Linked DNA regions of Homo sapiens: regions 1 and 2 are each linked to region 3. The links are contacts of gene promoters, found by promoter capture Hi-C in human tissues and cell types (Jung and others, 2019). All regions are on one chromosome and are shown on one strand. The core of a region is centred on a gene start or on the middle of the fragment in contact, and the rest is flanking DNA. Distances in the headings are between cores, read along the strand shown.

Region 1 (3,971 bases), core at 1,116-3,615, 420 kb after region 3:
GATTACAGGCGTGCGCCATCACGTCCGGCTAACTTTTGTATTTTTAGTAGAGATGAGGTTTCATCATGTTGGCCAGGCTAGTCTCAAACTCCTGACCTCAGGTTATCCGCCTGCCTCAGCCTCCCAAAGTGCTGGGATTACAGGCATGAGCCACTGCACCCGACCCATATACAATATTTAAAAGGGCATACAGTAAACAGTCAGTTACCTTCCTACTGCTGTCTCCAACCAGCCTCCATCAGTCACCTTGCTCTCCAACCAGATATGACCTGCATCCACACAGACACATGTGCATGTGTGCATGGGTGTCCGTGTCTACGTATGGAAGAACACAAATGGTAGCGTGCTATATTCACTCTTTTGCAGTTGTCATCATTTACCTTAACAGATTCCTTTGGGACTGATATTGAACTACTGAATAGATGAGCCCAACCAGGAAGTCCTCTTCTGTGAATGCCACGGCTGGGAGCAGCTAGTCTGAGCCTGGTTTGCTCTGCACGTCACGTATTCCAATTGCTGAAGGAAAGGAATGGTTACACATTTATTCCTCAATTTTCTTTCAGCTTTTCTCTTCAGCTCCTGTGTTAACTTCTGTGTTTCATGTTTACTTGCATCTCCTGTCTTCCCTTTATTTTCTGCCCATGATGACATTGCCTCTTCTTCACTCATGCACTCTCTGTCTCAACTTGGCTTCCTAAGAGCTCTTCTTGCTGCCTCTGACACACTCTCATTTCTTTCTGGTGATTTTTCTTCTCCCTAAAGAATGAGTTCAGCTTTTCATGAGGCAGCTCCTTCACATCAGTGATTGACACAAGATGTTTTTACTGGTAATTAAAGATCTCTCTTTTTGGTAAAATATATTAGTCCAGGAAGGTTCTGCTTGGAGATGATGTTATTTCTGGTCTGTCGGGAGTGTTGCTCAGCCATCCAGCCTCCCAGCTGAGTGGAACAGAAGGAAGTGAAAGGACTTGCCCAGCATGTTAAAGAGAGCCAGCACATAGGTGACATCAGGATGCCTCACTGGCTCACCCCTCTACCCAACAGCGCACGGCTGCCTGTAAGGAACAGACAGACAGGAAATTGTCCTGGGAGTGAGAAGATGGGAAGATGAGGGGCACCGAGTAAACCTGAGGAAATGCGTGTGAGTGACAGAAGGAAGCTTTGCAGGAAGGCCCAGCCACAAGAAGGAGGCCATGGCAGGAAGCCTTAGGGAGGAAGGCTTTCCTCTATCCCTCCTTCCTGGACCCAGAGCTCATGAGCAATGTGCACAGGTGGCTCAGGGGGTGGCTGTTAGAAGGCAGGGCGGTGGGAGAAGCAGGACCCTTGGGCAGGGTGAGCAGCCGGAGATGGTGCCTCCTTCATGAGAAAACAGGGCAGCTGCGATTGCTGCCCCAGCCGGCTCCTGTCTGGAGGGTGAGAGGGGCTGGTGTGGATGGGAACTTCATCCTTCTCTCAGGGTGCCACCAGGAGAGGGGCTGAAGGCCTCTACAGGAGTGGATTGGTCATGCTGGAGCATGTTCTTCCAGGCTTTGCCTTCCCAGGCACACACACTCACTCCCACTCTCCTGCCCCTGCCCTGTTTTCTCCTTAGCACTTGTCACCTGCTAACATGCTGTTGTCCTCCTTACTTTGTTTTGTTATTATTTTAAAAGTACTTGCCACCTTCCTTCATTAGAGTATAAGCTCCACCAGGGTGGAGGTTTTTTGTCTGTTTTTGTTTTTTTTCTCCATTTTGTTCACTGCATCTCCCCAGCACTTAGGACAAGGCCTGGCATGTAGCAGGTGCCCATTAAGTATTGTTGGACGAATGAATGAATGAGGACAGTTCTGATGAGGACACTTTGTGATGTAACCCAGGGCAGGGAGGCCATGGATGTGTCCTTAGCAAAATGATGCCAAGCTTATTATTTCCTAGGAAATATGGCCAACATCACAGTAGTAGAAGGGATGTGATCTCTCATACAGATAAGAAAGGAGCATCTTAGGAATGAAATCAGGCCTCCCGTGGTGTGATGTTTGCTTCTGGCTGTTTTTGGAGCAAGCTGGCCACAGCTGGATAGAAGCAGCCACGTTCCACTCGGCTCCCTCTGAAGTCAAAGGCAAGCCCCGAGCCCACTAGTCTCCTGAGCAGAGCCTCTCAGCAGGAGGAAGACAGAGGAGCCCAAAGCCCTGGGCTTCCTCATCTGAAGAGAGGGACAGATATTTTGGGAGAAGAGAAAACTAGGCTAGGGAGTAGGTTCCCCTTAGGAGCTCTGCCTGCATTCTGGAGAGAGGCTGGCGGTCACCGCGATGCTTCCCGTGTGGCCTTGGGAGAAAGCAGACTTCCTCAGAGGAAGGTATTCCGGGCTGCAGGTTTGATTTTCTCTTCTTTCCAGCTCCAGAATTTGTCGGGGCAAATTCTGGCTGCCTCCGGTTTCTGTCTAGCTCTTGCACGGCAGCCTCTGCAGTCACCCTCAGGCTTCCTGGCCTGGCCCAGCCCCTTGTGGCTCCTCTGCGTCCCCCCACCCCACTTTTTTCTTTAATTTGTGACAGACTCTCACTCTGTTGCCCAGGCTATGGCAAGGCAGTGGTACTATCTTTGTTCACTGTAAGCTCGACCTGTCAGGCTCAGGTGATTCTCCCACCTCAGCCTCCTGAGCAGCTGGGACTACAGGCACCCGCCACTACACCAGGCTAATTTTTGTATTTTTAGTAGAGATGGGTTTCGCCATGTTGCCCAGGCTGGTCTTGAACTCCTGGACTCAGGCAATCCTCATGCCTCGGCCTCCCAAAGTGCTGGGATTACAGGCATGAGCCACTGCGTCCAGCTCTCTGACTTCTTTTCCCAGCCCTCCCCCAGTCTCTGCGAGGCTTGCAGTCTGTGATACACCAATTTCCCCAAACCCTCAATCCACTCCTCACGTCCTTGTTGAGTGTGGCATTTGTGGGACCTGGCCTACCCCTGAGCACTGAGCCTCCTGCTGGCTGGAGTGGAGGCCCTTGTGACTGACAGTGGAGCTGAGTGGCCTCCCTATCCCTGATTTCTGTTTCTAGACCGTCTCTATCCCTCTCCTGGCCAAAAACCAAGCTATCTAGCCATGCACCGGCCAGCCTCATGGTGACTCCTGGGCCTGGCTTCTTGGTTCCTCTTGGTTACAGACTTCAGCGCCTGACCTCCCTCTTCACCCCCACTCATGTCCTCAATCACAGGGAGTTCAATATCCAAGTAGAGCACCCATCCACCTCCTTGGCTATTTGTCCTTGACATTGTAGCACTAAGGACCCTTTTTCCCCTCCACTGCAACCATCCACTTCCGTGGTCACACACTGAGTCTCATCATTCACAGAAGTCATTTTATCCAAATCTCATTTTCAAGCATTCCATTCTCTGACAAGCACTCCCTGTTGTTCTAGTCTCCTGGCTGCTAAGATTCCTCAATCTCATCAAAGGCTGTAACCCACTAAACCCTACACTTTGCCTGTCAAAGGCTTCCCCTAACTCATTCTCCAGTTAGATGTCATGGTCATGTGTATTATCATTCCCTTCAAGAAAACCTCTGTGCCCCTTCCTGGCTGTCCTCTGTCCTGCATGTGGCAGGCTGTATTTTCCAAAGGTGATCCTTCTACCCACTCCTCCACAATGTGACCTTGCTATTTCCCATTGAGAAGTGGAGTCTGATTCCTTGCCCTTGAATCTGGACTGGCCATATGACTTCATTATATCTAAAAGAATGCAGTGGGCTGGGCATGTTGACTCACACCTATAATCCCAGCACTTTGGGAGGCCAAGGTGGGAGGATTGCTTGAAGCCAGGAGTTCGAGACCAGCCTGGGCAACATAACAAGATCCTGTCTCTACAAAAGTAAAAATAAAATAAAATAAAAAATAAAATAAAATAAATAAAAATAATGCATTAGAAGTAACAGCACTAGCTTGGAAATGGCCCCACAGCTGTCCCCTGGTCCCTCTGGGATTCTTACTCTGGGGAAATC
Region 2 (4,187 bases), core at 603-3,102, 330 kb after region 3:
TCAACATTTTGGTTTTACGTTATGGGACTCTGGATCTTATTTAAATCTTTGGTTTATATTGGTCCATACTGACATTGCTGTGGGAGGGAGAGGAGGGGGAACTGACTAGTTTCTACCAGGTGGAGTGGGGGCTCAATTCTCCACTTGTGGAGAGCTGCCTACTTCTTACTGTTGGGTGGGGGTGGGGTTCTGGCTTCTTCCTGGGCCTCTGCTGATACCACTCTGGCTGGGAGGGGCAGAAACACTTCTTTACTGCTCTCCACAAGGCCTCCGATGACACTTGGGAGAGGTGGCCTCGTTCCACTGGGCAGTGGTGAAAGTCCTGGCTCTCCATGAGGCCTCCTCTGTTATCATCCCTGGCAAAGGAAGAGGACAAAGAGGGGAAGAGGTGCCTTGTTACTGCCAGGTGGGGGTGGAATTCAGATCTCCACAGACATTCGCGGGGATGGTGGCAGCTGCAATGAAAGTCCCAGGATCCTTGCTACAGAGCCTCACCAGCGTGGAAGACCCAGCTCCCCACCCAGCCTTTACTGGCAGGGGTGTGGGTGGGGTCATAGTTTTTCCCAAGGTGTTTGCTTGGAGTAGACAGTTGCTGTCTAAATGTTTTCTGTCTCACTAGACATCCCCTTTTCTGGTCCTCTAGTTAGAGAGGGCAGGCTTTTGTTGAGACTTTTTTTTTTTGAGACAGAGTTTCGTTCTTTTGCCCGGTCTCACTCTGTCACACAAACTGGAGTGCAGTGGCGCGATCTCGGCTTACTGCAAACTTTGCCTTCTGGTTTCAAGTGATTCTCCTGCCTCAGCCTCCCGAGTAGCTGGGATTACAGGCACCCGCCACCATGCCTGGCTAATTTTTGTATTTTTAGTAGAGATGGGGTTTCACCATGTTGGCCAGGCTGGTCTCAAACTCCTGACCTCAGGTGATCCACCTGCCTTGGCATCCGAAAGTGCTGGGATTACAGGTGTGAGCCACTGTGCCCAGCGAGACTTTTTAATAACTGCATCTGTTGGCATTTCTAAACTGCCAGTTTCTCCAGCAATGTCTGGGATATGTGGAAAAAAAAAAAAAAAAAAAAAAAGCCCAGGAAATACCACAGTGCCCTTCCTCAGGTTCCGAGGCCCCTAAATGAACCTCCTCTCACATCTGGAGTCTTCTTCTCTTTGTTTTATGTATTGTGTCCAGGTTTTTTTTGATGGACTTAATGGTGGGAATAGGGAAAGCACTTCTCCTCCGCCCTTCCAGAAGCTTATTCTTCACTGCATTTAACCGAATCTGCGTTTACATTTAGAGTGGCAGGAGAGGCTTTGCTTCCTGTTAAAAGAATTTCAAGCATTACTTGAGGCAGGTGGGAAAAAATTGTGGAGAGGGATGGGCCTGGGGTGGAGGGAGGAAGAGAGTGGGCCCACTCTTCCATACCTCTGAAGCCACTGCTCACCCTATTTTTCACACCGTTTCCACTCCTGTAGCACCTGAATTCAAGCCCTTTCTTTTATTCTTGGCCACACAGAGGAAGCCCTGTTTTTCCTGGCATTCCCACTACCCGCTGTAGATTAGCAGCTACAAGCACCTTCCTTGACCCAGGCCCCAACATACAGGAGAAGGAAAACAAGGCCCATTCATCCCACGGCAGCCGTTCTGCATCAGGATGGGGCCCCGGCAGTGAATTCTGGGAAAGGGAGGCTTTTGCAGCTTAACTTTCTGAAAAGGGGGTGGCAAAACCTGTGTATGGAGCCTGTCAGCCTGGACATTCTGGAAATAAGATTGAGTCCTGTTCAAGCAGACAAAGGGAACAATGCCAGCCCAGACAACCAAGTGTTCTCGGGCGCCCCCCTCTTGGCCCAGACCACTTCACATGGAACCTCTAAAAGGCCTGTGGCTCTTGAGAGAAACAAGCCCACCAGGCAAAGAGCATCCTTTGTGCTGAAAATGCAAATGGACTTTCATTTATTGGGCAATCTCCTCTTCAGGAGGCTGATGAAGTGAATTGGGAGACAAAGGTGCTTAATTCTTTAGCCATCCTGTTGATGGATTCCAAGACTCAAAAATGGAGGCTAGAGGTGGGGGTAGGGAATTTTCCATGGAGAGAACAAGAGAGAAGACTTGGGGATGTCATTGGCAGGGGTCAGTCTTGAAATAGGACTGTCCTTGGTTTAGTGTTCTTTTTAAAATGAAAAAACATTTTTAATGGACTTTATTTTTTAGAGCAATTATAGGTTCATAGAAAAATTGAGCAGATGGTATAGAGGTTTCCCATAGGCCTTCTGCCCCCACACACGCAGTCTCCCCCATTACCCACTTCCATACACACACACATACACACACACACACACACACACACACACCAGGAAATCAACTGTTTAAAGAAACAATTGATGCAGCATCTAGTGACTGCCTATCTTTTTTTTTTCTGTTTTTGTTTTTTTTTAGGGATAGGGTCTTGCTCTGTCATCCAGGCTGGAGTGCAGTGGTGGGATCACGGCTCATTGCATTCTTGACCTCCTGGGCTCAAGTGACCCTCTCACCTCAGCCTCCTGAGCAGCTGGGACTACAGGCTGTGCCACCATGCTCGGCTAATTTTTTAATTTTTTTTTTTTTTTTGAGACGGAGTCTTGCTCAGTCACCCAGGCTGGAGTGCAGTGGCGCAATTTCGGCTCATTGCGAGCTCCGCCTCCCGGGTTCACGCCATTCTCCTGCCTCAGCCTCCTCAGTAGCTGGGACTACAGGCGCCCACACCACGCCTGGCTAATTTTTTTTGTATTTTTAGTAGAGATGGGGTTTCAACATGTTAGCCAGGATGGTCTCGATGTCCTGACCTTGTGATCCTGCGGCCTGGGCCTCCCAAAGTGCTGGGATTACACGCATGAGCCACCGAGCCTGGCCTAATTTTTTAATTTTAATTTTTGTAGAGATGGTGGTGGTGGTGGGGGTGTCTTGCTGTGTTGCCTGGGTTGGTCTTGAACTCCTGGCCTCAAGTGATCCTCCTGCCTCGGCCTCCCAAGGCTCTAGGATTACAGAAATGAGCTATCTCACTTGGCCTAATTGCTTGTCTTTTTAATGGAGTGAAACCTCACTGTGGAGATTGCAGGTTGGGGGGAACTTGTGACAATACCTTTGTGGTGTTAACACCTTCAGCTCTCCAGAGTCATGGCTGAAAATCACCTGTGAGAGTGAATATAATTGACTTTTTAAAACTTCAGGATCGATGGTGTCATATACATGTGGGTCAGTTTTTTAATCTTGAACAGCTTTTTGAGATATAATTTATATACCATAAAATTCACCCAAGTGTACACTTCAGTAATTTTTAGGAAATTAACCGAGTTGTTTATCATCACCACCATCCGGTTTTGGAACATTTCCATCACTCGAGTAAGATCAGGTACACCTGGTTGCTATTAATCCTGCATTCCTATCCCTAGCCCTAGGCTGCCACTGATCTTTTCTAGACATTTCATATGAAGGTCACCATACAACATGCCGTTCTCCGTGACTGTTTTCTTCCACTTAGCATATTGTTTTGGAGGTTCATCCATATTGTAGCATGTGTCAATAGCTCTTTAATTTTTACTGCAGAATAATATTCCATTGTATGGATATACTCCATTTTGTTTATTCATTTTCCAGTTGACAACTGTTGGAGTTGTTTCCATTTTTTTTTTTTTTTTGGCTATTATGAATAATGCTGCTGTGAATATTGACACTTGAGTTTTTGTGTGGACACTTTTCTCTTTCCTTTGGGTAGATTACCTAGCAGTGGAGTCTCTGGGTTGCAAGGTAAAGTTGTCTTTTTAAAAAATTTTATTTATTTATTTATTTATTTATTTAGAGACGGAGTCTCGCTCTCTTGCCCAGGCTGGAGTGCAGTGGTGTGATCTCAGCTCACTGCAACCTCTGCCTCCCGGGTTCAAGTGATTCTCCTGCCTCAGCCTCCCTGGTAGCTGGGACTACAGGCGTGTGCCACCATGCCTGGCTAATTTTTTGTATTTTTAGTAGAGATGGGGTTTCACTGTGTTAGCCAGGATGGTCTTGATCTCCTGACCTCGTGATCCGCCTGCCTCGGCCTCCCAAAGTGCTGGCATTACAGGCGTGAGCCACCACGCCCGGCCAGTAAAGTTATCATTAAGGTCGGCTGGCGACAGTCACATTTCTGCAGCAGTTGGGTAGCAGCTGGAGCACCCTTGTCTGCTCC
Region 3 (4,393 bases), core at 1,270-3,769:
AGTCCCAGCTACTTGGGAGGCTGAGGCAGGAGAATGGCGTGAACCCGGGAGGCGGAGCTTGCAGTGAGCCGAGATCGCGCCACTGCACTCCAGTCTGGGCGACAGAGCGAGACTTCGTCTCAAAAAAAAGAAAAGAAAAGAAAAAAAAAGAAAATGTTCCACAGTTGTTTTCATTTCAGGGTAAATTTACCTAGGAAAGATAGGAATATTTTAGAGAATCCCTCCTTTTTTTTTTTTTTTTCCTTTTCATTGTGCTGCCATAATGTTGAGAATCAACCAGACGCATCTGTTCCCTAAGCGCCACAGTTCAGGAAAAGACAAGCCAGATCCTAGAGAGTTTTGGTTCCCACCCCAGCCTGGCCACTGCCACTCATCTGGGTCCCCGTGTCCTCACTGTGAAAGGATAGCCTTGGACCAAATATTGTCTAAGGAGCTTTCAAGCTCTAAAATTCTATGATGAGTCGTCAAGCAATGAACAACAAACTAACCAGGGAAGCAAACTAAAATACATTTCCTGTGGCCAAATTCTCAGAGCCCAGGAGTCAACTTATCAAAGAGGGGGAGGAGTCAAACAGTTCAAGAGCAGTGCCACACACACAAAACAAGTATCAGCTAGGAAACAGCACTTTTCTGCCTCTATCTAAACATGACCTAAAAACAAAATATAAATAGGGTTTAAAACTTTAATGTGTATACTCAGCACACAGACTTCCTATTCACAAGAAGGGAAGATACTTTCGCGTAATTACAAAGTGTAGTCCTATACTTTGTCTGTTCCTACTATACAAAGCATAAAATTATATACTTGCAAAGTATGAAAATATTTAAATGGTATAATTATCTGTATTTATGACACTTTTTTTTTTTTTTTTCTGAGACGGAGTCTAGCTCTGTCACCCAGGCTGGAGTGCAATGGCACGATCTCGGCTCACTGCAACCTCTGCCTCCTGACATTTAAACAAATTACTCTCAAAAGATCATAATGTCATGGAGGTAGTTTCTCTGTACTTCCAGGGAGCCACACGGACCACTCTCCTGTAATATCTATTCAAAACAAGACCCACTCATTTAAAATCCCTGGTAGTCTGGGAAACTGGGTGGCTTTCCAATGCTGAGCCCCTAGGCCGGTCTGAAAGGTCTCCTCCTCCTCCTCCAGGTCAAAACAAAGGACTGTGACCCTACCGTTTCTGCTCTCTAAAACTTACTTGCGCAGCGCCGCACAGCCTCCCACGTCTCTAGCTTCTTTGCTGCCCCTACAGACAGACATGTAGATCATTTTAAATTTAAGGCCTTCACTGATTTCCTTAGGGGAAACAGAGGAAGAGTGAACAGGAGAACCAACCTTAAGAAAAAGTGCTTACAGAGTTGCTGATCTCTAGCTTCAGACACAGCCCCCCTACTTCCTTATTTAGCCGTGCTTAAGGTAAAAGCCCACAACAATAGAAGTCAAAGAGCCCCTTCCTGAGGTGCTCTATGAAAATTTGCATTTCTGAGAGGCTTCCAAGGGGACTGACTCAAATTCATCTTTCTTTTCCCCAGGCTGGCAGTTAACTGCGGAACTGCAGGATAAAACGTTCAAGTGCTGGTGAAAAATAGGGACAGCTTGCAGATGTTGTAAAATTTGGGGCCGTGAAATCTTAACACTGCCCTCCAATCTTCTCACCCTTTTAGATGCTACCATGGACGTTTGTTTAAAGGCCCTCCAAAATGACAGTTTTTGGTTAAGTTCCAGGAAGATAGGGCATTATTTTAATCCAGTAGAAAAAGAAGAGGATATGACCCTACAGTGTGCCAGATAAAGAAGTTTAAGGACAAAACTTGCCCCTTGCTTCAATACTTCATGATATAATCGGACCTGTCGACACCTCAGTATACACAGCAATGAGTGTATAAACTTACTGAATTAATGTGGGCGCTGGATTCCGAGATGAGAAACTCTGAGGTGCAAACAACCACGGTATATTGTGGTTCCACGGAAGTTTCATCGGGTCCTTAAGAAGCCCTTGCTTGGCCTGTTTGAATGCTGGGCATAGGTCGATAAATAGAGCGTAGTTGTTTAAATAGTTTTACTTAAGTTCTGAAATCAACTCTACTTTAAATCTATATAGCTGCAGGTAATGTAATCAGGCCATCCTCTTCCAAGCTGGCAGCCATGGCAAAAGTCCCTTTCTCTTGGCGCGAATTACAAGGAAATTCAAGAAATACTTTAAGATATATATATGCCAAAGACCTGGAGTTAAGTTACTAGGGTGGGGCTGTGTAAATGTTTGGTGACTCACTAAAGAAAGTTGGGATCTGGGGTGCTGGCACCTGGAGGACACAGAAGAAACAAAAGTTGGGGGGCTGGCGAAGGTCGCTAGCACACTTTATCTCTGATTGGCGGAAGCCCTCAGAGTTTTCTTTATGGCGTCACCGAGTACCTGCCTGTAGAAAGGCCCCGTCTCCGTGACGTCACGCCGCATTGGCCAATGAAAGGCCTCAGTCTGCGGGCCCCGAGGAGGGTTGTGGGCCCTTTTTTGTGAATGAAGCGCCACGGAACAGCCCTCCTGGGGTCCCCACGAGCCGCGTCCTGCTGTGCCCCGGCGCCTACGCAGCAGCGGCCGCGGCCGCGGTGGGCACGCACGGTTACCCCGGGCAGCTCCGGCCGCCAGCTGCAGCCCCGTCGCCTCGGCCGCGCCAGCCGGCTGCGGGCACCTGGGGGCGGGCTGGGGGCGCCGGCCGCGGCAGGAGGCGCTGTAGCGAGGGCTGCGGCGCCGGTCCTGCGGCGGCCGCGGGAGGCAGCGGGGCAGGCGCTGTGGGCCGGGCTCCTCCTCCGGCTCCTGCGCGACCGCCTCCCGCCGGGCTCTGCCGGCGCCCGCCGTCCCCGCAGCGCCGCTCTGCGCCCGCCGCCCCGAGCGCCCGCGCGGGGCTGGCGGGAGCCTCGGCGGGCGCGCGGGCGCGCGGGGCCATGGTCGTGGCCCCCTGACGGGCCGCGGCCGCCTCCATGAAGCGGAAAAGCGAGCGGCGGTCGAGCTGGGCCGCCGCGCCCCCCTGCTCGCGGCGCTGCTCGTCGACCTCGCCGGGTGTGAAGAAGATCCGCAGCTCCACGCAGCAAGACCCGCGCCGCCGGGACCCCCAGGACGACGTGTACCTGGACATCACCGGTGAGCCGGCCAGTGGGCGCGCGGAGGGCCCCGGACGGCCGCACCCGGCGCGGGGCCCTGGCCCACCTCCCACCGGGCTGCCCGGGGCCTCCGGGGCCGGGCCGAAATGCCTTCGCCCCCACCCCCTTAAACGCCCCGGCCGCCACACCCCCTTTAGGAGCCTGGCTCCTGAGGAGCGCCCCCCGCCCCGAGTTTCTAGCTGCGTGGGCTGCGAGCTTTAACTTTAGCTTGTGCACCCTCCTCCACCAGCAAGATGGACCGAGGGTCACCTTTCTAAGTTGCGGGCGTCAGCCCGGCGCCTCGAACCTGCAGCTCCTCCCCGCGGGCTGCTTCTGAGTTCCTGTGGATTCCGCCTTCAGGGATTGCGAGCCCGGTTGGCCCTCGCGCGAGTCACAACCTCTGAATCAGCCCCTGAGGATTCCCCGAGCGCGCTGAACGCGCCTGGCACGGGAGCTGCCCCTTTTTGGCGTTGGCCAAACCCCCGCTGCTCCGTAGCCTTGGGACCCTGGGCGCCGCGTTGCCCGTCCGGCGCGTAAGCCCGAGCCCCTCTCCTGGGCCTCCCGCGCCCTGCCCCCTAGCGCGCCCCCCGAACGCCTCCGCCTCCCGGGGTCCGCTCCCCGCCGGGGCCTCGAGAAGGAAGGTGTCACGTTGGTGGCATTCGAGCCAGCCGGCAAGACGAATGTCCGGGTTGTCACTTTTGAGAAATCCCAGCCAGCCAGAGCAGGTAGCCAAGCAGCCCTTCGATAGCTGTTCTGTTAGTGCTGATTCGACTGTTCTTGGAGACTCATAAATCCAATTTGGCAGCTGTTAGGTTTGCTGGGATTGACAGTGACGCGTGTGAAGGCATTAAATGTGATGATGTATGTGGCAACGCTGTGTAAACAGCAGAGCTGTCCACGATTTTGAGGGAATTGGCAGTCTGTTTTCAGTGGCGGGGAATGTGTCAACCTCGGTGCGTGGCGTTATTAAAAACTGTTTCCAGCCCCTAGCCTTTGATAAACCAGGTAAGCTGGAGTGGCGAGAACATTAAGTGGAAGTGTTTAGACAAACACAGACGTTTAGGAGAAATAATATTCTAGGTTCATGGACAATCTGGAAACTAAGTTCGTTTTGAAATGAAGCTGAGAGCAGAGCGGGTTTCTCGGCTTTGGTGGATGGCCCTTGGGAACCAGAGCGGGCATAGGAAGGGGTTGCCCTGAGTACCAGTCCCCGGCCGGTAGCTGCGGGGGGTGTGCGGGAGGTGAAGCCTG

Evidence for each region. The method cuts DNA at HindIII sites, captures the fragments that hold promoters and counts their contacts. A contact is called where the count stands out against the background at its distance.
Region 1: a fragment that was not itself captured here is called in contact with the fragment with the promoter of CDC14B in region 3 in 1 of the 25 tissues and cell types used here (dorsolateral prefrontal cortex).
Region 2: a fragment that was not itself captured here is called in contact with the fragment with the promoter of CDC14B in region 3 in 2 of the 25 tissues and cell types used here (hippocampus and mesendoderm cells).

Annotation. Positions count from the first base shown.
Region 1 is chr9:96,196,218-96,200,188 of GRCh38, reverse strand. No RefSeq gene overlaps it. Among named protein-coding and RNA genes, the nearest start is that of HSD17B3-AS1, 48 kb to the left of the region's middle. The HindIII fragment of the contact is 4,301 bases long and covers 215-3,971 here.
Region 2 is chr9:96,287,346-96,291,532 of GRCh38, reverse strand. The region is part of intron 2 of HSD17B3 (hydroxysteroid 17-beta dehydrogenase 3); the gene reads left to right. The region is part of intron 17 of SLC35D2-HSD17B3 (SLC35D2-HSD17B3 readthrough); the gene reads left to right. Among named protein-coding and RNA genes, the nearest start is that of HSD17B3, 13 kb to the left of the region's middle. RefSeq lists an enhancer at 1,706-2,256. The HindIII fragment of the contact is 4,737 bases long and covers 1-4,187 here.
Region 3 is chr9:96,617,969-96,622,361 of GRCh38, reverse strand. It overlaps CDC14B (cell division cycle 14B), which reads left to right and starts at 2,519. Exons shown (of 14, transcript NM_033331.4): 1 at 2,519-3,143. The coding sequence starts at 2,984. RefSeq lists an enhancer at 2,868-3,368. The HindIII fragment of the contact is 32,033 bases long and covers 1-4,393 here.